Linked DNA regions of Homo sapiens: all the other regions are linked to region 1. The links are contacts of gene promoters, found by promoter capture Hi-C in blood cells and fetal thymus (Javierre and others, 2016). All regions are on one chromosome and are shown on one strand. The core of a region is centred on a gene start or on the middle of the fragment in contact, and the rest is flanking DNA. Distances in the headings are between cores, read along the strand shown.

The links. Contacts are between HindIII fragments. The CHiCAGO score rates a contact against its expected background, and 5 or more counts as called.
Region 2: a contact is called between a fragment that was not itself captured here and the fragment with the promoter of ABI1 in region 1, in 4 of 17 cell types (total CD8 T cells, fetal thymus, total B cells and 1 more). The highest score is 7.5, in total CD8 T cells.
Region 3: a fragment that was not itself captured here is called in contact with the fragment with the promoter of ABI1 in region 1 in 1 of 17 cell types (activated CD4 T cells); the score reaches 5.6 in activated CD4 T cells.
Region 4: a fragment that was not itself captured here is called in contact with the fragment with the promoter of ABI1 in region 1 in 1 of 17 cell types (M2 macrophages); the score reaches 6.8 in M2 macrophages.
Region 5: a fragment that was not itself captured here is called in contact with the fragment with the promoter of ABI1 in region 1 in 1 of 17 cell types (neutrophils); the score reaches 5.1 in neutrophils.
Region 6: a fragment that was not itself captured here is called in contact with the fragment with the promoter of ABI1 in region 1 in 3 of 17 cell types (monocytes, M0 macrophages and M2 macrophages); the score reaches 9.6 in monocytes.
Region 7: a contact is called between a fragment that was not itself captured here and the fragment with the promoter of ABI1 in region 1, in 7 of 17 cell types (neutrophils, naive CD8 T cells, monocytes and 4 more). The highest score is 9.0, in neutrophils.

Annotation. Positions count from the first base shown.
Region 1 is chr10:26,859,553-26,862,665 of GRCh38, reverse strand. It overlaps ABI1 (abl interactor 1), which reads left to right and starts at 1,708. Exons shown (of 11, transcript NM_001012750.3): 1 at 1,708-1,919. The coding sequence starts at 1,803. RefSeq lists an enhancer at 1,466-1,665 and silencers at 1,986-2,075, 2,186-2,335. The HindIII fragment of the contact is 3,622 bases long and covers 1-3,113 here.
Region 2 is chr10:26,464,057-26,467,002 of GRCh38, reverse strand. All of the region lies in intron 2 of APBB1IP (amyloid beta precursor protein binding family B member 1 interacting protein), which reads right to left. Among named protein-coding and RNA genes, the nearest start is that of APBB1IP, 27 kb to the right of the region's middle. RefSeq lists a silencer at 1,850-1,899. The HindIII fragment of the contact is 3,863 bases long and covers 1-2,946 here.
Region 3 is chr10:26,395,635-26,398,879 of GRCh38, reverse strand. No RefSeq gene overlaps it. Among named protein-coding and RNA genes, the nearest start is that of APBB1IP, 41 kb to the left of the region's middle. The HindIII fragment of the contact is 4,604 bases long and covers 1-3,245 here.
Region 4 is chr10:26,411,456-26,414,631 of GRCh38, reverse strand. No RefSeq gene overlaps it. Among named protein-coding and RNA genes, the nearest start is that of APBB1IP, 25 kb to the left of the region's middle. The HindIII fragment of the contact is 319 bases long and covers 1,269-1,587 here.
Region 5 is chr10:26,351,854-26,354,902 of GRCh38, reverse strand. No RefSeq gene overlaps it. Among named protein-coding and RNA genes, the nearest start is that of APBB1IP, 85 kb to the left of the region's middle. The HindIII fragment of the contact is 876 bases long and covers 1,224-2,099 here.
Region 6 is chr10:26,379,039-26,382,351 of GRCh38, reverse strand. No RefSeq gene overlaps it. Among named protein-coding and RNA genes, the nearest start is that of APBB1IP, 58 kb to the left of the region's middle. The HindIII fragment of the contact is 1,180 bases long and covers 1,411-2,590 here.
Region 7 is chr10:26,427,633-26,430,663 of GRCh38, reverse strand. No RefSeq gene overlaps it. Among named protein-coding and RNA genes, the nearest start is that of APBB1IP, 9.2 kb to the left of the region's middle. The HindIII fragment of the contact is 1,306 bases long and covers 613-1,918 here.

The sequences.
Region 1 (3,113 bases), core at 459-2,958:
TGTTGAAATGTGTCAATATTTGAATATATACAAACTGAGTGATTTCTACAGTTAAACCTCAAGTAGAGACCAAGATCAATAATACATTAAATTTTAATAACTTGGATTAAGTCGTGTTTGGGTTAACGATAAATATCAAAAGATAACTATTACACCTATTCCAGATAATAAATGTATTACTTTCCATAATATCTGGAATAGGTATAATAGTTATCTTTTGATAGATTCCTTGATGGAGAATCTGGTGGCAAGGGGAAGTTAACGTTTTTAGTAGGAAACTGAGTTTTTCCTTTCAGAGGTCGAAGAGGGAAACTGGTTCCCTGGGGCCCTGAATAAGGCCCCAGTAAAGGCAATATTCAATAAATACCTGGTGCTGGCAATTTTTAATTTGGTTGAGTGATGTTTTTACTCCTAGTTATTTTGATTCTAAATGACTTTATGGAGATACATGAACATATGTCCAAAGTCTTTGGACAACACTTTTCATAGCTGATTATATCCGAAGCATTTAATGTTCCTGTTGAAGTGAAGAGCTTGAAATATAGGGCCTTTTGAGACTATTCCAAAGCAGGTGATAAAAACAAAACAAAACAAAAATCCAGGAGCAAAAAACGAAGGATCAGGGTGGGTGGCTCATGATTGTAATCCTAGCAGTTTGGGAGGTTGAGGCAGAAGGATTGCTTGAGGCCAGGGGTTCGAGACGAGCGAGGGCAACATAATTTGATCCCTGTCGCTATAAAAAATTAAAAAGCTCAGCCAGGTGTAGTGACCGACGCTTGTAGTCCCAGTTACTCTGGAGGCTGAGGCAGGAGGATCGCTTGACTTTAGGAGGTCTAGGCTGCAGAGACCCATGATTGTGCCCCTGTACTCCAGGCTGGGTAACAGTGAGATCCTGTCTCAAACAAGCAAACAACTCCCACCCCTAAAAAAACGTGCACATGACCTTAAAAGTGTAGGAAGATTACATGATAAGGAGAGTCAGAGAAAAGAGAAATTAGGACAGGAAAGCACTACAAGCTATGTATGTTTATTTTATAATTGAGTCTTTAAGGGTACGGAGTATTCGTACTCAACTTGTACCCCCAGTGTCTAGTACGCTGCTTGGTAAACAGCTGGCAATCAAGAAATGTTTGCTAAATTTTAAATGAATTGATGGGGGCGGAACTTCAGAAAGTAAAGCCTGACTCGCTTTATTTCTAAGAAGGCAGAGGAAGTAAAAATCTAGTTTTCCGTACTCTGTCCCCTTTTTAATCCTTCTCTGAATGGGTGTCCTTGATTCACTGACATTTCCTAATTAACCAAGTTCTGCCAAGTTTCACATGAAACTTGGGGAACCGATTTCATTCCCCCAGTATCACCCTGTGGCGCCACCTTCCGGAGCTGTGAGGAAACTCCGGACTTCCCCCCAACACCGCCCCCTCCCTCCACCCTCGGTCTCCGCTTTCTGCGCTCTGCCGCGTTGGTTTTCGGAGGTGTCTGGGCGCATGCGCTTTGGACGGGCCGCCTAGCCTAGGAGAGACTACAATTCCCAGAAGACAGTGCGAAAGAAAAAAAAAATCCCGCGGTCCGTGGGGGTGGGAGAAATAAACGCTCGCGAGAGAACGAGGTTCAGGCGGCTGCACGAAGGGGGTGGAGGGGGGCTGGAGAGAGTGAGGAGGAAGGGGAGGAGGTGCCGTCCCACAATACCAGGCGGGAGGGCGGGTAGGCGGTTTGTATCCGGGCTGTGAGGTGCTCGGAGCCTCGGCGGACCTTGCTGCCTCTGTCTCTTTAACGCGAGAGGAAGCGATGCAGAGGGGTGGAAAATGGCAGAGCTGCAGATGTTACTAGAGGAGGAGATCCCGTCTGGCAAGAGGGCGCTGATCGAGAGTTACCAGAACCTGACTCGGGTGGCAGACTACTGTGAAAACAACTACATACAGGTGAGGCGCTCTGGCGGCCGGCGGGCGCTGGCCGGGTCGAGGACCCGCCGGAGTGACCAGCCCACTGGGCGGGGTGGGGAACTGCCCTGACCTCAGCGGCTGCCACCAACCCGAGCCCCTACCGCAGCCCCAACCCCAGCCCCAACCGGGGACAGAGCGAGTGGCCGGGCTGAGGGAGTCGGGCTGCGATACAGGAAGTGGCTGTGGTGGTGGAAACCGATAGAAGGGGAGAGAGAAAATGGGCGAGGGAGCCGGGAGCCCGCCGCTGCCGCAGCCCGGCGCCCCCCTCGCGTCCGCTTCCCCCAGGGCCCGGCCACCGGGGTCGCGCGCCCCCCAGGTAGCCTCCAGTCCGCAGGGCTGGAGTCCCGGAATACCCCCGAGCTGCCGCCGCGCCGCCTCTCTGCGCCGGGAGAGGAGGTCCAGGACGGGAGAGGGGAGAGGAGAGGGCAGGGACGAGGCTGAAGCCGCAGAAGGGAGAGGACCAGCGGGGTGTGTGTTGTGTGTCGGCGGAGGGTGGGGTGGGGGCGATTATGTCAGTTTCAGCCCCCAGAGGGTGTGTCTTTTATTTATTTATTTATTTAAAAAAAATTTGTCATGAGTCACATTACACCGACCTCCCGGAGGAGAGGAGGAAGCGGGTGTGGGGAGTGAGGGAGGGCGTTTGAGAGAAGTTCATCTTAAAATTCCTTTAATTGAAGGTTTGTAAATCTGTCTGCTTGTCCATTTTCAAGTCGGGTTTTTTTTATTTTTTTCCCCCTCTCATCGTTTTCACTTCCGCCCCACCATAATGTATTCTAAGAGGTTGTTAGGGCTGCTATCATTAATTATCAAACACGAATTGTTCTTAACTCCTTGGAAAAACGGCTTACCCTCCCTTCTCCCAAAAGTTCTTGAGCTGTAGGCTTCATAAGTAACTTAAAATAGACTGGTGTCATCGCCGGTTGCTTATTTTCTGAGGTTTCTCTCTTAACAAGCTAAGTAAATGTATAGTATGTGAATCCAAATACAGAAACGAACAGAGGTAGCCTCTGAACTACAACGTAAAAATATCTGTTATTGTAAATTAGAAAACTCTTGGGACTTTGTGACAGATGCTTGTTTGTTCGTTTCTCTTTGGATGATTGGAAGTGAATTGTGTGTGGTAGTTTGTTTTGAAGATCTTTAACTGTGTAAACCAACAGTTTGCGCTAGAAA
Region 2 (2,946 bases), core at 257-2,756, 400 kb after region 1:
TTAGGGAATCAAACTCATTCTCACTATTAATGTTCCTGCCCTGGACAACTACATAATTTTTTTTTTTTCCATAGGGTCTTGCTCTGTCATCCAGGCTGGAATGCAGTGGTGTGATCATAACTCAATGCAGCTTCAAACTCCTGGGCTCAAGCAATCTTCCCACTTCAGTATCCTGAGTAGCTGGGGCTACAGGTATGCGCCACCATGCCTGGCTAATTTTTAAATTTTTTGTAGGGACGAGGTCTCACTACGTTGCCCAAGCTGGGCTCCACCCACTGGCCTCAAGCAATCCTCCCATTTCAGCCTCCTGAGTAGCTGGGACTACAGGTATGTACCACCATGCCTGGCTAATCTTTAAATTTTTTGTGGGGCCGAGTTCTTGCTATGTTGCGCAGGCTGGTCTTGACCTCCTGGCCTCAAGTGATCTTCCCACCTCGGCCACCCAAAGTGCTGGGATTATAGGTGTGAGCCACTGTATCCAGCCAACTGGATAACTTCTTGAAGCAAATATTCACTTAATTCCTGTTGGATGATGAAAAACTTTCTTTCTTTACTCATATTCAAGAAACATACTCACAGTGTAATGATAATGATGGTGATGGGCCTCCTATTCTTTGACACTTCTCCCATTAAGAAGTGGGGTCTGTGTCCCATCGCCTTGAACTTGACCAGCCTTGTGATGGCTGTGGTGGATGCCACCATGTGACTCTGGAAGTCCCCCCATCAAAAGCCACCTATCTGGGCCTCTCAGAATATTCATTCTCCAGACATTCCTTCTGGAAGCCCAGCTGCCTCGATAGTAGAAGCCCAGGACACCCGGAGGGGCTGTAGAAGGGGATCTCATCACTGCCAGTCCTAGCTCAGCCCAGGGACCAGGAAAGAGAGTGAAAAACCCTCCAGATGAGCCCAGTTTCCTGCTTTTTGGGTCACCCCCAACTGCTCAAGTCTTCCCAGCTGAGGTCACAGACATCATGGAGCTGATACAAGCTAGCCCTGCTGTGGACTGTCGGAATTCCTGACCCACAGAACCTGCAGCCATAATAAAATGGTCTGCTTTACACCTCTAAGTTTGGGGTGGTTCGTTGAGCAGAAATTGATAAGTGTAACAAATTATCCTAATACCTACCATTTCCAGGGCACCTGCATCTGGCAATATATTATGCTTTAGAGGTTATGCCTCTCATCCTTTCCACTTCTCTGCAAAATATATTATCCTCATTGTGCAAGTGAAGAAATGAAGGCTCTGAGAAGATAGGTATCACACAAGGACACACATCTGGTGAATGACATGTTTATGTCAAAATTCAGTGCTTAAACATGCCCAAAATGTCAGTCTTTAGTCACCTAAAAATGATAATTACTAAGTGATGAACATTAACAATTAATAATGACATAATTATAATTTTTTCTTTAAAAATGTAAATATCTTTTCTATGGAGAATTTGAGCATTGTATCTACCCATCAGAAGGTGCAAAAATCATTAATTTATTATTAATTACAATGAGTAATTATTATATCATTATGACACATAATATATAAAATGTCAGCATTATTACTAATTTATTTTCTTTTGCCATAATGATGAGATGTTTGTCACGAAAAAAATAGAAATTTGTGTCCTTGAATATGTCAACTAGCTAGACATGTACCTGTCTACAGAGTGTCACAAACAGCAAACTAGTTAAGATCTGAGCACATTCATGAAGCAATGAAGGGTGCCTGTCAATTCAGTGGACATCTGATCACATTTTATGCTCTACATGAATTTCTTCAATTTCTTTTTGATGAATACTGACACACACTTTCCTATGGGTAGTTTTTTCATATATGGAAAATGACAGCCTTTTAATTTAATCATAGTTTTCTCTGCACAGTCTACATGGGAATCACGCCTGGTCTGCAGCTACTGTATTTTTCATTTCTCTCTTACAGCTGTGCGAGAAAGCACATGTCTAAAATGGAAATAATGTCTTTGCAAACAGAGAATGCCCCAGAGTTCTCTGTTGGTTTTGCTTAGACCACAAAAGTGAATTCTCTATTTAATTCATATATCAATAAAATAAAAACAGAGAATAAGGAACTTGGATTTATCCCTGTTTGTCCTTCAGATGGTACCTGTTGGGGCCCTGCTGTATCATCAGAAAACTTATTAGGTGTGAATGTGGTAACTGAATGAGTCAAACTCAGGTTCAATGCTAACTACTGCATGATGTTGAGTAACTTACTTAACTTGGTTCAGCCTCAGTTTTTTCATCTGTAAAACAGGGCTGGGAAAATTCATAAAATTATTATGGTCTGGGCATGGTGGCTCACGCCTGTAATCCCAGAACTTTGGGAACCTAAGGTGGGAGGATCTCTTGAGGCCAGGAGTTTGAGACCAGCCTGGGCAACACAACAAGAACCTGTCTCCACACACACATACAAGTAATAATAATTAGTTGGGCATGGTATCGTGTTCCTGTGGTCCCAGCTACTTAGCAGGTTGAGGTGGGAGGATCACTTGAGCCTGGGAATCTGAGGCTGCAATGGACCATGATTGTGCCACTGCACTCCAGCCTGGGTAACAGAGTGGGACCTTGTCTCAAAAAATAAAATAAAATAAATTTGTCACGAGGACTAAATGAGCACAGTCAGGCCTGGGCACAGCAACTGGTACATAGCGGTGTTTGCATATAGGTGGGTATTAATACATTTAAAATGTACTGAAAACTAGTTCCAAATAGTGGGGGTGACTATATACTGTCTCCTAAAATTCCAATGAAATGACTTTATAACAGTCTGGAAAGCATGGAAGGATGGTATGAGTAGATCAAAATGTTGAGAAACTTCTGGAAGATGCTACAGAGAAGGGACTGTAGATACTGAGTAACTAAAGCAAAAAATGTGGAGTCCAGTATGGATCTAGAGGAGGGCTGCTGAAGACAGAGCCAAGACAGACACCCAAG
Region 3 (3,245 bases), core at 457-2,956, 460 kb after region 1:
ATACGGGCAGAAAAGGATGAATTCTGGAGCTCTGGGGAAAAGAGTGAGGCCAAACCTTGCTAATGAGGACAAAGGCAGGAATGAACATAGGTACAGATGCCTTTGCAATGGCTGAATGCTGAGGGAGTTGGGACCTGATGAATGAGGAGGATGCTGAGAGGTAAGAGGTTTCAAAAAGCTGCTGTGGAGAACCACATAGAAAACTGGGAGTGGGGACTTAGAAGGGCCCAGTGGTTGTGATAGTTTGCTGAGAATGATGGTTTCCAGCTTCATCCATGTCCCTACAAATGACATGAGCACATCCTTTTTTATGGCTGCATAGTATTCCATTAACTATCGCAAGGACAAGAAACCAAACACCATATGTTCCCACTCATAGGTGGGAATTGAACAGTGAGAACACTTGGACACAGGAAGGAGAACATCACACACCAGGGCCTGTCATGGGGTTGGGGGAGTGGGGAGGGATAGCATTAGGAGGTATACCTAAAGTAAATGACGAGTTAATGGGTGCAGCACACCAACATGGCATATGTATACATATGTAACAAACCTACACGTTGTGCACATGTACCCTAGAACTTAAAGTATAAAAAAAAAAAAAAAGAAGGGTCCAGTGGATGTGGAAACTGAATGATGACTGGCACCTGTGTGAGTGGCTGTGTGCTCTGCAGCCCCGGGGGTGCATTTGCTTAGGGGCTCATGGAGAGGACGGAGGGCTGAGGGATTTGAGAATTTCAGGAGGAGTGATGCAGACATGATGGCTGATGGGGTTTGCAGGATGAAGTAAAGAGAAGAGGGAGCTGACAGGTTGAGAGACGGCACAGACACTTGGTGCGTCCCAAGGGAATATCATCACCTCTAATCAGCATGGCTTTTACTGTCAGCCTCCTACACTGTAAAGTCCTGGAGGCCAAGGATTCTTATTTTGAAAGGATTCTTATTTTGTGAGAACTAATAGTTTATAAGATGAATAATACTTACCTTAAATGGTTATCATAAGGTAGGGATAAGAATGCACACAAGAATATTTGGCATGGGGTCTCAGAGGTGTTAAATAAATGTTATTTGAATCAGAATCTGAATGAGGGTGGGGCACGGTGGCTCATGCCTGTAATCCCAACACTTTGGGAGGCCGAGTCAGGCAGATCAACTGAGGTCAGGAGTTCAAGACCAGCCTGGCCAACATGGTAAAACCCCATCTCTACTAAAAATACACAAATTAGCAGGGTGTGGTGGCAGGCACCTGTAATCCCAGCTACTCGGGAGGCTGAGACAGGAGAATCATTTGAATCTGGGAGGCAGAGGTTGCAGTGAGCCAAGATCATTCCACTGCACTCCAGCCTGGGCAATGGAGCCAGACTCTGCCACAGAAAAAAAAAGAAAGAAAGAAAAAAGAAAAAGGGAAAAGAAAAAAAGAATCTGAAAGAGTAGCTTTCAGGATAATTCAGAGCTTGGTGATTTTTCAGTACAGGAAAAAAACCCAGTATAAATAAGAGGAAATGATAAGAAGTGATATCAGTAAGCAGGGAATTAGAATAAGAAGACCCAGGTGTTTTGTTTTTTTTTTAATATACTTTAAGTTCTAGGGTACATGTGCACAACGTGCAGGTTTGTTACATAGGTATGCATGTGCCATGTTGGTTGGCTGTACCGATTAACTCATAATTTACGTTAGGTATATCTCCTAATGTTATCCCTCTCCCCTCCCCCTACCCCACGACAGGCCCCAGTGTGTGATGTTCCCCACCCTGTGTCCAAGTGTTCTCATTTTTCAATTCCTACCTATGAGTGAGAACTTGCAGTGTTTGGTGTTCTGTCCTTGGGATAGTTTGCTCAGAATGATGGTTTCCATCTTCATCCATGTCCCTACAAAGGACATGAACTCATCCTTTTTTATGGCTGCATAGTATTCCATGGTGTATATGTGCGACATTTTCTTAATCCATTTTATCACTGATGGACATTTGGGTTGTTTCCAAGTCTTTGCTATTGTGAATAGTGCCGCTATAAACATACGTGTGCATGTGTCTTCATAGCAGCATGATGTATAATCCTTTGGGTATATACTCAGTAATGGGATGGCTGGGTCAAATGGTATTTCTACTTGTAGATCCTTGAGGAATCGCCACACTGTCTTCCACAATGGTTGAACTAGTTTACAGTCCGACCAACAGTGTAAAATTGTTCCTATTTCTCCACATCCTCTCCAGCACCTGTTGTTTCCTGACTATTTAATGATCACCATTCTAACTGGTGAAGAAGACCCAGGTTTTGGTGCCTGAAGTCCAGTTTGGAATCAGCTCTGCCAACTGTAACCTGGCTCAAGTTATGAGATCTTGTTGAGGTTCTTAGTAGCCCTGAATGGGTAATTCACACTTATATTACAAAGGTGTGTGACAAACTAAATTACGGTGTAATTTGTAAACTGGGCAGTACAATAACAGATTAAATGAAAACACAGAATAGTTAAGATAGAATCTACATTGAACATCAATCTACATTTACTCTGCTCCCAACTTACAGAAGGACATAGTTTGCCTCCACTACATTTCCTCATTCTGGCCTCAGGTGACAGAGCACGGTGTTTAGCAAGTAGCAGCTTTTTAAAAAATTTTCCTCAAAGGATAAAGCAAATGTAGTGTAAGCTGGATATTTATTTATAACCCTCCTAAGCAACTAAAAATTAGGCAACATTGAGAGAAAGGATGATATTCTAGAAAAAATTCAGACTTTAGATCCTGATAGAACTGAGTTCAGATTCAGACAGATCAGGGTTTGAGTTCCAGAACTTCCACATAATAGGTGTTTGGACAAATTATTAATTGAAAGTTCATTTTCTTTACAAAGTAGGGATAATAATAGCTGTCTGCTAAAGCTATTATTCTGAAAAAGTCAGATAGTATACTATATATAAATTAGCACAGTGCCCTGCACATAGGAAGCATAATACACAATAAATGGCCGGGTGCAGTGGCTCACGCCTATAATCCCAGCACTTTGGGAGGCAGGCGGATCACAAGGTCACGATCGAGACCATCCTGGTTAACACGGTGAAACCCCATCTCTACTAAAAATATTTTTAAAAATTAGCCAGGTGTGGTGGTGGGCGCCTGTAGTCCCAGCTACTTGGGAAGCTGAGGCAGCAGAATGGCGTGAACCCAGGAGGCAGAGCTTGCAGTGAGCCAAGACCGAGCCACTGCGCCACTGCACTCCAGCCTGGGTGACAGAGTGAGACTCCATCT
Region 4 (3,176 bases), core at 179-2,678, 450 kb after region 1:
CCTCAGTCTCCCAGGTAGCTGGGATTACAGGCGCCTGCCACCATGCCCAGCTAATTTTGTATTTTCAGTAGAGATGGGGTTTTACCATGTTAGTCAGGCTGGCCTCTAACTCCTGACCTCAGGTGATCCACCTACCTCGTCTTCTCAAAGTGCTGGAATTACTGGTGTGAGCCACCACACCTGGCCCAGACATACACTTTAAATGAGAAACTTTTCTCTTGTTTACGTTAGTCTAGAATTCCCTTCTACCCTCTAACCTTTAGTCTATTTCTCTGCCTTCCTCTCCTCTCTCCCTACCTTCTCTCCTTCCTCCCACCCTCTCCTTCTTCATTCCCTCCCATCTTTGCCAAGATTAAAGAAGGAATCTGGTCAAAGTGGAAAACTCCATATGAAAAAATGAATTTCAAGCACAGAAAAATATGTGGTAGTAGATATTTTCAATGTTAACCATAAATGATATTAGAAGGTGTTGGTGTAATTGAATGACCAAGCAGATCCTACAAAAGCTACCTCAGCTACTTCTAATTTGGTTTGCTTTATTCAGTTTTATATCCTACAACTTCAGGTAAAAGTATAAAATAATTCATTACTAAAAATTTAACTTTTTAGCTAGACCCATATAGAAATATTTCTCCACTTTTTAATTGTAATTTGTTCTCAATGAAACCATATTGTTGTTCTCTCCTGGAGCCACATTTACAATTAGTCAATGAGATTATATTTAGTAAAATCCTCGTTTCTGTCAACAGTTCTCCATCATTTCAGCTTTCATTTTTTTAAAACCCCAACTGATTCTAAGTTATTTCTGTTATACTTTCAAAAGGGATCTTAATCAAATTTTTTCAGACTATCTTTCATGGTGATATAATTCTCTTTCATTTGAATCTTATGAAGTTAATCCCAGCAAACCTCCTTGGTCTTAGCACCTCTAAGTGCCTTGATTTCAGCTCTCAGTGTCTTTTCTTCATTATTCTAGACACACAGGAGAAACACGTCATGCTGGGGCTTTCCACGTCATGTTGGGGCTTGGGGACTGTGAATGGCATTTTCCAGCCCACTGGCTTCAGTTTGCCATGCAACTATATTTACCAGCTGTGAGGGTGTGGGGGACACTGGCATCCTCCAAGGGCATCCAGATGAGCATCAGGGTATGAGTCTACCTGACTCAGAACTCTGATCCCTGCAGACTTGGCCAAAAGGCTGGGAAATCCATGCCAACTTCCCTTTCTGCTCCTCTTCTCTCAAAGGCTCTCCTCCCATCCCAAGCTTTGATTGGAGGCTGAACGTATAGGTGGGAAAAATGAATTCTGCTCAATTGCATATATTTCAAATCCATTGTCTTCTTCCTTAACACAGAATCTTGGATAATGTGTCCAGCTAGCAGGTCTGTATCCCAGCCTCCCTTGTAGCTACTTGCAACCATGTCAATAAATTTTGGCCCAAAGAGAGATAAGTGAAAGTATTATTTGGAACTTTCAGGAAGTGCCCTTGAAGTGTGCCTTTTTTCATATCCTCTTTCCCGCTGGTTGGAATGCAAGCCCAATTATTGCCCTCTTGGACCATGAGATGACCTTGAATTTAGAAGCTTTGGACATCAGAGCAGCAAAGTGGAAGATGCCTGGGCATTTGAAGGCTCTGTGGAATAGCCTCATTAGCCCTGGACTAGCTACTTGTAGATTGTTTGTATGTGAGGGAATCAACCCTTGTGTGATTAAATCTCTAATTTTAAGATCTCTGTTACACACAAACACGACTGCTATCTAATATACCCAGGGAACTTCATTTTTTAAGCTTAAGGGACAAGAATTTTCTAATCTTGATTATATATACTTGCAGATAACTTGTATCTGACACCTGGATCTTGACTTTTGAATCTTACAAGCTAAGATCTTGGGTCCCCAGATTTACTGGGACAGCCCTGCTGTGTTATCTTTCCCTGGATGTCCACAAGAAATCTTCAGGAAAGATCTATGTCACTTGTCAAGGTGTTTGGGTGGCAGAGTATGTTTCTTTTGAATTGTACTGGAAGCAACCATGAAGCAAGGAAAAGCAGCTCCTATATATGCAAGTTAACAGAGTCTTTGCACAGTGAAGCTGCGAGTCTCATGTACTTGGCTTGTTATTCATTGCATCTATATGTTTAGATCTGTGCTAAAGGATCTTGACTGACATCTTGAAAGTAAATGTTCTCTCTTCTTTGGCAAGTGAACTTAATGATTCTAGTTTGTAGCTAAAAAGTCATTATCTTTAAAGAGCCATTCTTGTCAAATGTGGGTAAATGATGAAATAAATGTGATATTATAGCCTCTTGGTATGTGATGCTTTCTATCTAAGCAGAACTCAACAACATGTGTTACTATAACATTCAGTTGAAGTAATTTATCACGTAAACTGAAAGGAAAGTCACTAAATAGAATAAGGTATAACCTACATTAGAGTGTTACATTGTTATTTGCACATTATTTTATTGTCTGAGACTAGGTCTTGCTCTGTCACCCACAGCACTGCACTGGAATGTAGTGGTGCAAATATAGCTCACTGCAGCCTCCACCTCCTGGGCTCAAGCGATCTTCCCACTTCACCCTTCCAAGTAGCTGGGACCACAGATACACACCACCATGCCCAGCCAATCTTTAAATTTTTTTGTAGAGATGGAGTCTCACCTTGTTGCTCAGGCTTGTCTCAAACTCCTGGGCTCAAGTGATCCTCCTTGCTCGGTCTCCCAAAGTGCTGGGATTATAGGTGTAAGCCACCGTACCTGACCTATTTACACTTTTAGTATATGGTAACTACAAAGATTAGCTGAGATAACACATCTATATAAAACACTTAGTAGGTACCCAAATACTTGCTAAATAATGACACCCCAAAATACAGTCTACTCTTTCCAGAGGGAAGATCCTTTTATTTACAAAACGATATTTTCAATCCTTAATTCTGTAACACTTCCTTTATGCCAATCTTTCACTTTCTCCTGGGAATCCTGGTTGCTCTTGCTCAGTGGTCACAACAATCCAGAGATGAGAGCTAATGGGGAGCCACAAAGAGTGGAGTTTCAGCAGCTCCTTCTGCAGTGACATCCTGGTGATAACAAGCATGTATGGCCACTACAGAGTCCCCTGTGGTATAGCTTTGAGTGAGTTTACTTTCACTGACTGCTAAGAAAGAAATTTACA
Region 5 (3,049 bases), core at 412-2,911, 510 kb after region 1:
CGAATCAAAAGGGGACTCTTGGTCCTTTAATGAGGAGGGGTCAGCATCCCTGGAGGAAAACCAGAATGGATTTCTAGATCTCTGTCACTAATGGAAGTTGGGGGTGATGGTGGTATAATTTACATTTTTCTAAATTCCCAGGGCCAAGCAGTTCCCAAATCTGATGGACACAGTTTCTCTCCAGATGTTATTGCATTCAATACATTCAGTCATGTTATAATCAAATTGTTGGCATACGAACCAGGCCAATTTTTTATAAATGATGCTTTGGTGTGTATTTATTCTGATCCACTGTGTACTGATTTTATGTTTTATGTCTTCAGAGGACAATCCCATTTGACTGCTTCTTATGCTGTTGATATACTGATGATAGGAGTGGCTAACTTCTTGATCTTCTCAGTGGTATGCAGGGCATTCTTCTGAAATGCATCTTGACCTTTAATTAAAACAAGGTAGCCTCTGTTGGAAGCCTTCTTGGAAATCCTCCCTGACATGGTACAGTTACAGATTAGGGTGTGTCTGCAGAACCATCCCAAGAACCATATTAATTGCAACTCTGTCGAGCAACAGAATTCCATTTAGGTTGACTGAAAGCAAAAGTAAACAGGTAGCAGAAGGGAATTTACTATGTGGACACAAGGGGTCTCCTATACCCCAGGATTAGAAGTGAAGTCAGACTTAGTAAGGAACTGGAGCTAGGAACTGTCAAGCTGTCTAGACTCTCTCTGTATAACCACTGCGTCCTCCTTTCTCTCTCAGTAGTCTGACTTTTTCTCTTGCTTCTTGAGTTCAAAAGGCAGAACAGGCCACCCTACCTTCTCCAATTACATCTCCCAATCCCAGCCTTGTGGGATCCCTATCCTTCTCTTTCTGGCTCTCTAATCACAAATTCTGGGGAGAAAAAAGAATTGATAAAGCCAGTTTCATTCTGATGCCAAGTGCTTATTCAAATAGCACTGCCAGGTACTGCGCTAAGTGTCTATACATTTTACAAATTGGCTCTGTGTCAGTTTGGAAAATGAGAACGGGATTGTGATTGAGTTGCAAATTACAGGCTATTTGTGTTCTTCATGTAGTTGTGTAGTGAAGGTCATGGAAATGACTTCATTTAATGTGGCTTCATTTAATGTAGCCTTTGGATACAACATAATTCAAATCAAAGAGGCTATCTGATTGGGGTAGTTTTGTGATTTAAATAAGTCTAACAAAGCAGGAGCCAAGCTTGCAACAGTTTTGTTAGTTGTTAGAGGTATTTCACTGAGGGAAACATCAGCATAATCACTGAATTCATGCTGGGCTGACGAACAGCATCTCTCTCTCTCTCTCTCTCTCTCTCTCTCTCTCTCTCTCTCTCTTTCATTTTCGGCCTCTTCTTCTCCCTCTTGTTACTCCACACTCTACACAGCTATTTGATAAATCCTTACAGGTGCAGATGCCAGTGATGTTCTATATGACCTCTCTCAGAAAAAATGACACTTTCAAAGAGGTCCCCTGCGAAGCACAATGCTTAATCCGAAAGAGTAGCCCTCTAATGGTAAATTTACCTGCACCTTGGAAGGACACAGCAGAGGATGAAATATTTTGGAGTGTGATGGGCAGAAAATTCCATCCTAAAGCAGACTATGTAGGTGGGTGTCCAATGGACAAGACGGAAGAGAATTTGAATATGTAACTGGAGATTTCAAAGCTGTTCTTTCAAAGATTATGCTTAAGTTTGGCAAGCATCGAGTTCAAAACTCTGGAGTTCCTCCTTGTAAAACATACAGCTATATACTGTTAGCATTCAGTCTGATGAACCATTAAATGTCCATGCACACCTCCATCTTACTCTCCTTTATTTATTTAAATTTCTAGCTCTGTGTAGTGAGAATGATCCAGCTGCCACAGGTAGAAGGAGATGCTTTATCTTTCCAACAATTAATAAAATCCCTATCTGCACTAAAGGAACCCCTGAACAAGGGATCTGTTCTGAATCTTCTGGAATGGTGAGTGCAGAACTTCTTCATCACCATGACTTGCAATGAAAGTTTGATAGTCAAATTGTCATGTGCGTCCATGTGAAGAGACCACCAAACAGGCTTTGTATAAGCAATAAAGCTTTTTAATCACCTGGGTGCAGGCAGGCTGAGTCCAAAAAGAGAGTCAGCAAGGAAGATAGGGGTGGGGCAATTTTATAGGATTTGGGTGGGTAGTGGAAAATTACAGTCAAAGGGGGTTTTTCTCTTGTGGGCAGGGGCGGGGGTCACCAGGTGCTCAGTTGGGGAGCTTCTGAGCCAGAAGAAGGAATTTCACAAGGTTAATCAATCAGTTAAGGTGGCGCAGGAACAAATCACAATGGTGGAATGTCATCAGTTAAGGCAGGAATCAGCCATTTTCACTTCTTTTGTGAGTCTTCAGTTGCTTCAGGCCATCTGGATGTATACGTGCAGGTCACAGGGAATATGATGGCTTAGCTTGGGCTCAGAGGCCTGACACAAATCTCTGAATATTACTGGAAGCAGAATGCTGATTTTATCAAAATGAACAGAAATAGCACCTCATTCAAATGCAAATATACAACTTAATTTCAAATGAGTTTTTCTAAGTTGGGATATTTTCTGATCCTTTCTAAAAATGCTTCTCCTTAAAAAAGGCCACATCATTTCCCCCCAAAAAAGACAACACATTTTATTTCTTATTTCTGAATTGTTTTAAGGGAGTCATAAAATTTTCAAAGCTAAAAATCTATGCACATTTACTTTCATATTTTACCCCTGAGAAATTAAAACAATATGTCACTCCTGAATAACAATTAGTACTACCATCTGTTACTAAAGACAGATGTAGTCAATAACCTTGTGCTTTTTGGCTTCCTGATTTATAAAAATGTTTTTATTCTAAACCTAATTTTTTTTTTTGGAAGAGCGCTGAGCCTTCTGTGACTACTGTAGAAAGCCACATTTCTGTTTAAATTATAGTATTTCTACAAGTAATCTGATAAAAGAAAAGAACATGCCTATCAGATGATACTGAATTAGCTGAAATTTTAAAACTACCTTAGTTATAACAG
Region 6 (3,313 bases), core at 751-3,250, 480 kb after region 1:
AGCTTGCAGATGGACTATTGTGGGACCTCACCTTGTGATCGTGTGAGTCAATCCTCTTTAATAAACTTCCCTTTATAAATACATCTATCTCATTATTTCTGTCCTTCTAGAGAACTTTGACTAATACATGGGGGAAGTGCCACACATTTTTAAACCATCAGATCTTGTGAGAACTCCCTGACTATTAAGAGAACAGCAAGGGGAAACCACCACTATCATCCAATTACCTCCCACCAGGTCCCTTCCCCCAACACTGGGGATTACCATTCAAGATGAGATTTGGGTGGGCACACAGAGCCAAACCTTATCAACTGGATAATTTGTAGATAACAGAAATTTCTTGCTTACAGTTCTGGAGGCTGGAGAGTCCAAGACAAAGGCAGTAGCAGATTTGGTGTCTGGTGAGGGCTCCCTCTCTGCTTCAAAGATGGCACCTTCTGAGCTGTGTCCTAGCAAGGCAGAAGGAAGGGGCAAACAAGTTCCTTTAAGACTTTTTGATAAGGGCACTAATCCCATTCACAAGGGTGGAACTCTTATGATCTAATCACCTCCCCAAAGTCCCACTTCTTAATATTATTGCACTGGGGATTAGGTATCAACATGAAAATGTTGGGGTAACACAAGCATTAAGACCATAGCACCTAGTTTGAGCTATATTCTGGATATCAAAAGAATACTATTATTTCTTGGATGACTGTCCTTATTGGTAAGAAATACCTGGAGAATTGTGCTAAGAAGGATCCTTAGGTAGTATGTGGACTCAGAGGAGAAGGGCCTTGGTGGATTAGTAGTAATAATGGCATTTGGGCTCAGTGTCTGTCTGTCATGAGCTATCTGGTGGCAACAATGAAAATGGCTTGGTTACAATTAGTCAAGTTGTGTTTAATATAAGATAACTTGATTGAGAAAATTAAGTATTTTCTCATGTTATTTACTTTCTGCTTTCCCTCCCACTAGAATGAAAGCTCAATGAAGGCAGGTTTTTATCTATTTTAATCACTGTGGAGTCCAGTACCCAGTCAGCATCTGGTATGTGGGAGGTACCTGATAAATATCTGTAGAATATGAATGAACTGTTTCTGTCTGGCAGGGCTTCAAATCTACATTTATTCTCTTCTGATGTTAGACTACAACTTTAACGTCATTCTAGTGATCTGACCTAGAGGGATGTCTAGGCATCGGGGCCAGCCAGGTCCCTCAGGAACTTATATCATCCCTGGGAAGAAAAGACAGTGAAAGAGGAGGAGGAGGGAGGGAGGGGGATTGTTTTGAAGTGACTGAGTATTTACCCAAAGTTTCAAACTGGAAGTGACCATTTTTACCTTGAATTGGCAAGCGCATTTTCAGTGACTAAGCTAAAAAGGCTTTGTATTATCTCACTTATACATGCTGTGTAGCTAAGAGGAAGCTTTCAGATAGGCCTAGGGATGTTACCCCCACCCCTTCCCACCGGATGCAGAGTAATGATTCCCTGGAAATTCTCCGAGAAAGCAGAGCAGAAGCCAGCACAACATTGTGACTTGGCACCATCAGTTTTCTCAAGCACTTTTTTCTTATCAACAACAGAAAAAAGCGCAGTATTCAAGTCCTGGTAGGTTTTTCTTAACTTTTCTCTGTCTGGATTTGCTTGCAGAAATATAATCTCCAACTCTTCCAAACCCTACGACTTCTTTACGCCTTCTATCTAAATTCTTCTTTTTTTCTAATATATTTTAATACTTTCTGCAAGCAAGGTTGTTTATAGACCACTTGTTCTTTTAAATATTTTATTTCCTCTCACATAAATGGTAGTAAATCTTTTAATCTAACTATGAACTATTTTCTCAAAAGTTATTTAAAAGTATAGATGCTATGCATATTATTTCCTTTCTAAATAGGTGGCTTCCAGTGCCTGGGTGTTGCTGAGAAAGATGCTATACTGGGATTGGGTGGTGGTGGCTATTTCTTCAATAAAGAAGTGCAAGAATGCCAGACTTGTCAGGCATGGCTTGTTCAGAACCTGGTGGAAATCAGCTTGCCAAGACCTGGGCTGCAGATGTTGAGTGACCCTCAGCCAGGTCTTCTTCTGCTTAAACCTATCCTGGGCTAAAACTCAAAGTAAAAGGAGAGGAAGCTGGTTCTGTAGCATCCAGTGAGGATGGCATTCAGGCAATGCTGTTTACTATGGGCTGACCTCAATTATGCTGTAAAACACAACTGCAGAAACTCTCTCTAGTTCTCCTTAAATTCAAATTACAGTGCGGAAGTATCTGAGCTCAGTGGAGCTGGGAATGAGCCCCCTAGGAGGAGGTACTCTTGGAGCACTGGTGTCAGCAGCTTGCCCAAGTGAGGCCTGGTCATGTCCTCAAAGTAAGCCTCAGAAGTCCTCATCAGCTTTGCAGCCAAAGCAAAGACTACCATTGGTATGATCTTCACATACCTATTCAGCTTGTTTTGGATGTCTCATGACATAGAGCAGTGGCCACGAATGCACAGATTTCAACAGCAATGCAGTGTCAGTAACTGTCATCCTAGTTTAAAATGAACCATATCTTATCCACACATGACCAGCCTATTCCATGTTGGGAGGGCCGTGTGGTTCATGGAAGCTTACCAATAACAAGTTTGTTTTTAACCAGATTTTCTATTCCATGGGTGCCTCTGGTGGCCATGAAGGGTTTCCCTTGATCTCTTATATCAGCAAGAATGGTACAAATGTAAAACTGATGAATGTATGCAATCAGGTATCAATTACTCAGCCACAGTACTCTCTACTTTTGGACCAGTTTGGGGTCCAGGCCAGAGAGCTGATGGACGTTGAGATTCTCTCCCCTGCCGAGTGTCTTGTGTGCTGTTTTGGAGACAGCTCTGACGTGAGCATGTTTAATCTCCTCTGGATCCCATCAGCAATTTCTATGACTCTTTTAGCCACTGTTTCCAGGACAGAATTACCTACTGGACTATGTCCTGACAAATTATTGTGTTTCAATCTACTTATCTACTTAAATCTCAAGAGAAACAGACACATCTGGTCTGTTCTGGTTGATTTGCTTAGAAGTATGTTAGGTTTGCTGCAAACGGTGTTGTTAACATAGCTGATCCACTAGCGTAATATAGTTAACATTGCCTTAAATCAGTTGGCTCATGATGATATCCAGCCAGTTGCAATTGCGCAGCAAATGTGGTCAGATGCCCAAGGGAAGCCTGGAAGATGATGTAAGTCTTCTTTCTTCTTTTGAGACTCACAGCTGCACCATGATCACTGGTTTTCCTGGTTGTGTTCTTGGAAGAACCTATCAGTTTGCTCAAGACATGGGACTAGCATGTCTATTAT
Region 7 (3,031 bases), core at 16-2,515, 430 kb after region 1:
ATGAAAACAGACTTCAGTCAGAAGCAGTGGCTCACGTCTGTAATCCCAGCACTTTGGGAGGCCAAGACAGCCAGATCACTTGAGGTCAGGAGTTTGAGACCAGCCTTGCCAACACGGTGAAACCCCGTCTCTACTAAAAATACAAAAATTAGCCAGGCATGGTGGCGCATGCCTGTAATCCCAGCTACTCAGGAGGCTGAGGCAGGAGAATCCCTTGAGCTGGGGAGGCGGAGATTGCAGTGAGCCGAGATTGTGCCACTGCACTCCAGCCTGTGTGACACAACAAGACTCTGTCTCAAGAAAATAAAAGCAGAATTCCTCAGGTATTTCGGAAGAAGATGGTTAGTGGCTAAAAGATGTGTGTTATAGAACTGTAAAGAAACTCAGTTTACACTGAGTTGGATTTGACTGTGTCTCACTACCTCACTCTGTTGGCAAGCCCATCAAATCCAACATGTATTCTGGCCAATCTCTTCCTGACCAAAGTACTTTCACCTTCTGTAAGGGGACCCGGGTTGACTTGAAGTCAGAATCCTGCTAGCTTTTTCTTTTTCTTTCTGTCATTCTTTTTTTTCACAGGTAATTTTCTTTAGTTTAGCATTTTATAAAGCTTTGTCTATTTATTTTATTTGACTTGCCCTCAATTGTAGGGGATATTAGTTTCTGATTTAAATATCTAGCTTATTTTTAAAAATCTAACTTTTATGCCATCTGTAGTAGACTGTATTTTCCAAAGCTAGTCATGGCCATATCTTCCTTCCCCATTAAGAGGTAGGATCCATTTCTCTCCCTCTCCCTTGAATGTACTTTGACACATAGAATAGAACAGAAGTGATGGTGAACATAGTACTTAAATCCTGCCTCTTCTGTCCTTGAGCAGTCATGAAGAAGTCCTGGCTACTGTGTCGGCAATGAAGCCACATGGTGGGGCATGGAGGCATCAGATGTGAAGTGAAGACACCATTTTCACTGCCCAGACCCAGGAAAACTTCAGATGATTCCAGCGCCAGCTGTCCTCTAAATACAACTGCTTGAGAGACCAAGGGAGAACCACTGCGCTGAGCCTCATATCCCTGAAAGATGATGATAAATGGCTGTCTTAAGCCTCTAAGTCAATGGTCTCCCAGGGACTAAGTTCATGGCACCAGGGACTGGGTTCGTGGAAGACAATTTTTCCACAGATTGGTGGGGGGGATGGTTTCAGGATGATTCGAATGCATTACATTGATTGTGCATTTTATTTTTATTATTATTACATTGTAATATATAATGAAATAATTATACAACTCACCATAATGTAGAATCAGTGGGAGCCCTGGGCTTGTTTTCCTGCAACTAGATGGTCCCATCTGGGGGTGATGAGAGACAGTGACAGATCATCAGACATTAGATTCTCATTAGGAGCTCACAACCTAGATCCCTCACATGCACAGTTCACAAGAGGGTTTGTGCTCGTATGAGAATCTAATGCTGCTGCTGATCTGACAGGAGGTGGAACTCAGGCAGTAATGCAAGTGATATGGTTTGGCTGTGTCCCCACCCAAATCTCATCTTGAATTGTAGCTCCCACAATCCCCACATGTCATGGGAGGGACCTGGTAGAAGGTAATTGAATCATGCAGGTGGGTCTTTCCTGTGCTGTTTTCTCATGATAGTGAATAAGTCTCACGAGATCTGATGGTTTTATAAAGGGCAGCTCCCCTGCAGACGCTCTCTTGCCTGCCACCGTGTGAGACGTGCCTTTGCTCTTCTTTTCCCTTCTGCCATGATCGTGAGGCTTCCCCAGCCATGTGGAACTGCGAGTCCATTAAACCTCTTTTTCTTTATAAATTACCCGTCTCAGGTATTTCTTAATGGCAGCATGAAAATGGACTAATACAGCGAGTGATGAGGGGCAGCTGTAAATACAAATGAAGCTTCACTTGCTTATCCACTGCTCACCTCCTACTGTGTGGCCTGGTTCTTAAGAGGCCACGGACTGGTACCAGTCCATGGCCTGGGGCTTGGGGACCCCTGCTCTAAGTGTTGGTTTCTTCACAGCAGTAAACACCCAAGACACCATCTTGGGTATCTGTGCTTCTCATTTTTTCTGTCACAGTCAAGTTTCAATGCTTTAACTTTTTAAATATTATAAACTGGCAATGAAAAATAACTCTGCTCATGATTTCTATTTTAACCATAACAGGTATATATAATTAGTATATTTTTACTAATTATATATGTCACATATAGTGAATATATTTTCTCTTGCCTGTTAACAAGATCCTCCCTCTACCTGCCTCCTTACCTGCTACTGGTCCCTGGCCTTTGTTTGAAGCCAACTCCCTTCTCTCCTACACTCCAGTGGTACTCAGCAGGAGGAGAACCAGAAAGGAAAGGATGAAGACCAGCAGCAGAAAGAGAGGAGTGAAGAAGACATGAGAGAGTTCAAGAAGGCTTAGGAGAGAATCTTTGGTGGGAAGCTAAGAGCAAGGCAAGGAGAAAAAGGTTTGAGGGAAACTGCAGGATATGAGAAGGGTGGAGTTGAGAAGAAAAGGAGGAAGGGGGTTTTAAGAAATGTGGACTTGGTCTGAAATTAAATTGGCTGCTGGTTTCTTTGCACTGACACTGCACAGGGGCTATGCCCTTGGGAGGGGGCCCAGTGTTAGTCAGGGTACTAAATAAGCATGAAATTCGTGAAACTCTGAGATATACATTTGATGCTTGAACAGGGCAGGGGTTAGGTGAACTGACCTCTGCGCAGTTGAAAATTCCACGTATAACTCTTGACTCCCCAAAATCTCCACTGCTAATAGCCTACTGTTGATCAGAAGCCTTACCGATAACATAAGGAGTTAATTAACACATATTTTGTATGTTATATGTATGATATACTGTATTCTTACAATAAAGTAAGCTAGGGGAAGGAAAATCTTAAGAAAATCATAAGGAAGAGAAAATATGTTTACGTGATTTACCCACTCCACCCATCCCTATATGCACAAATATTCTGACTTTTTGAAATTATATTTTTCTGAATATTTGCCACCAT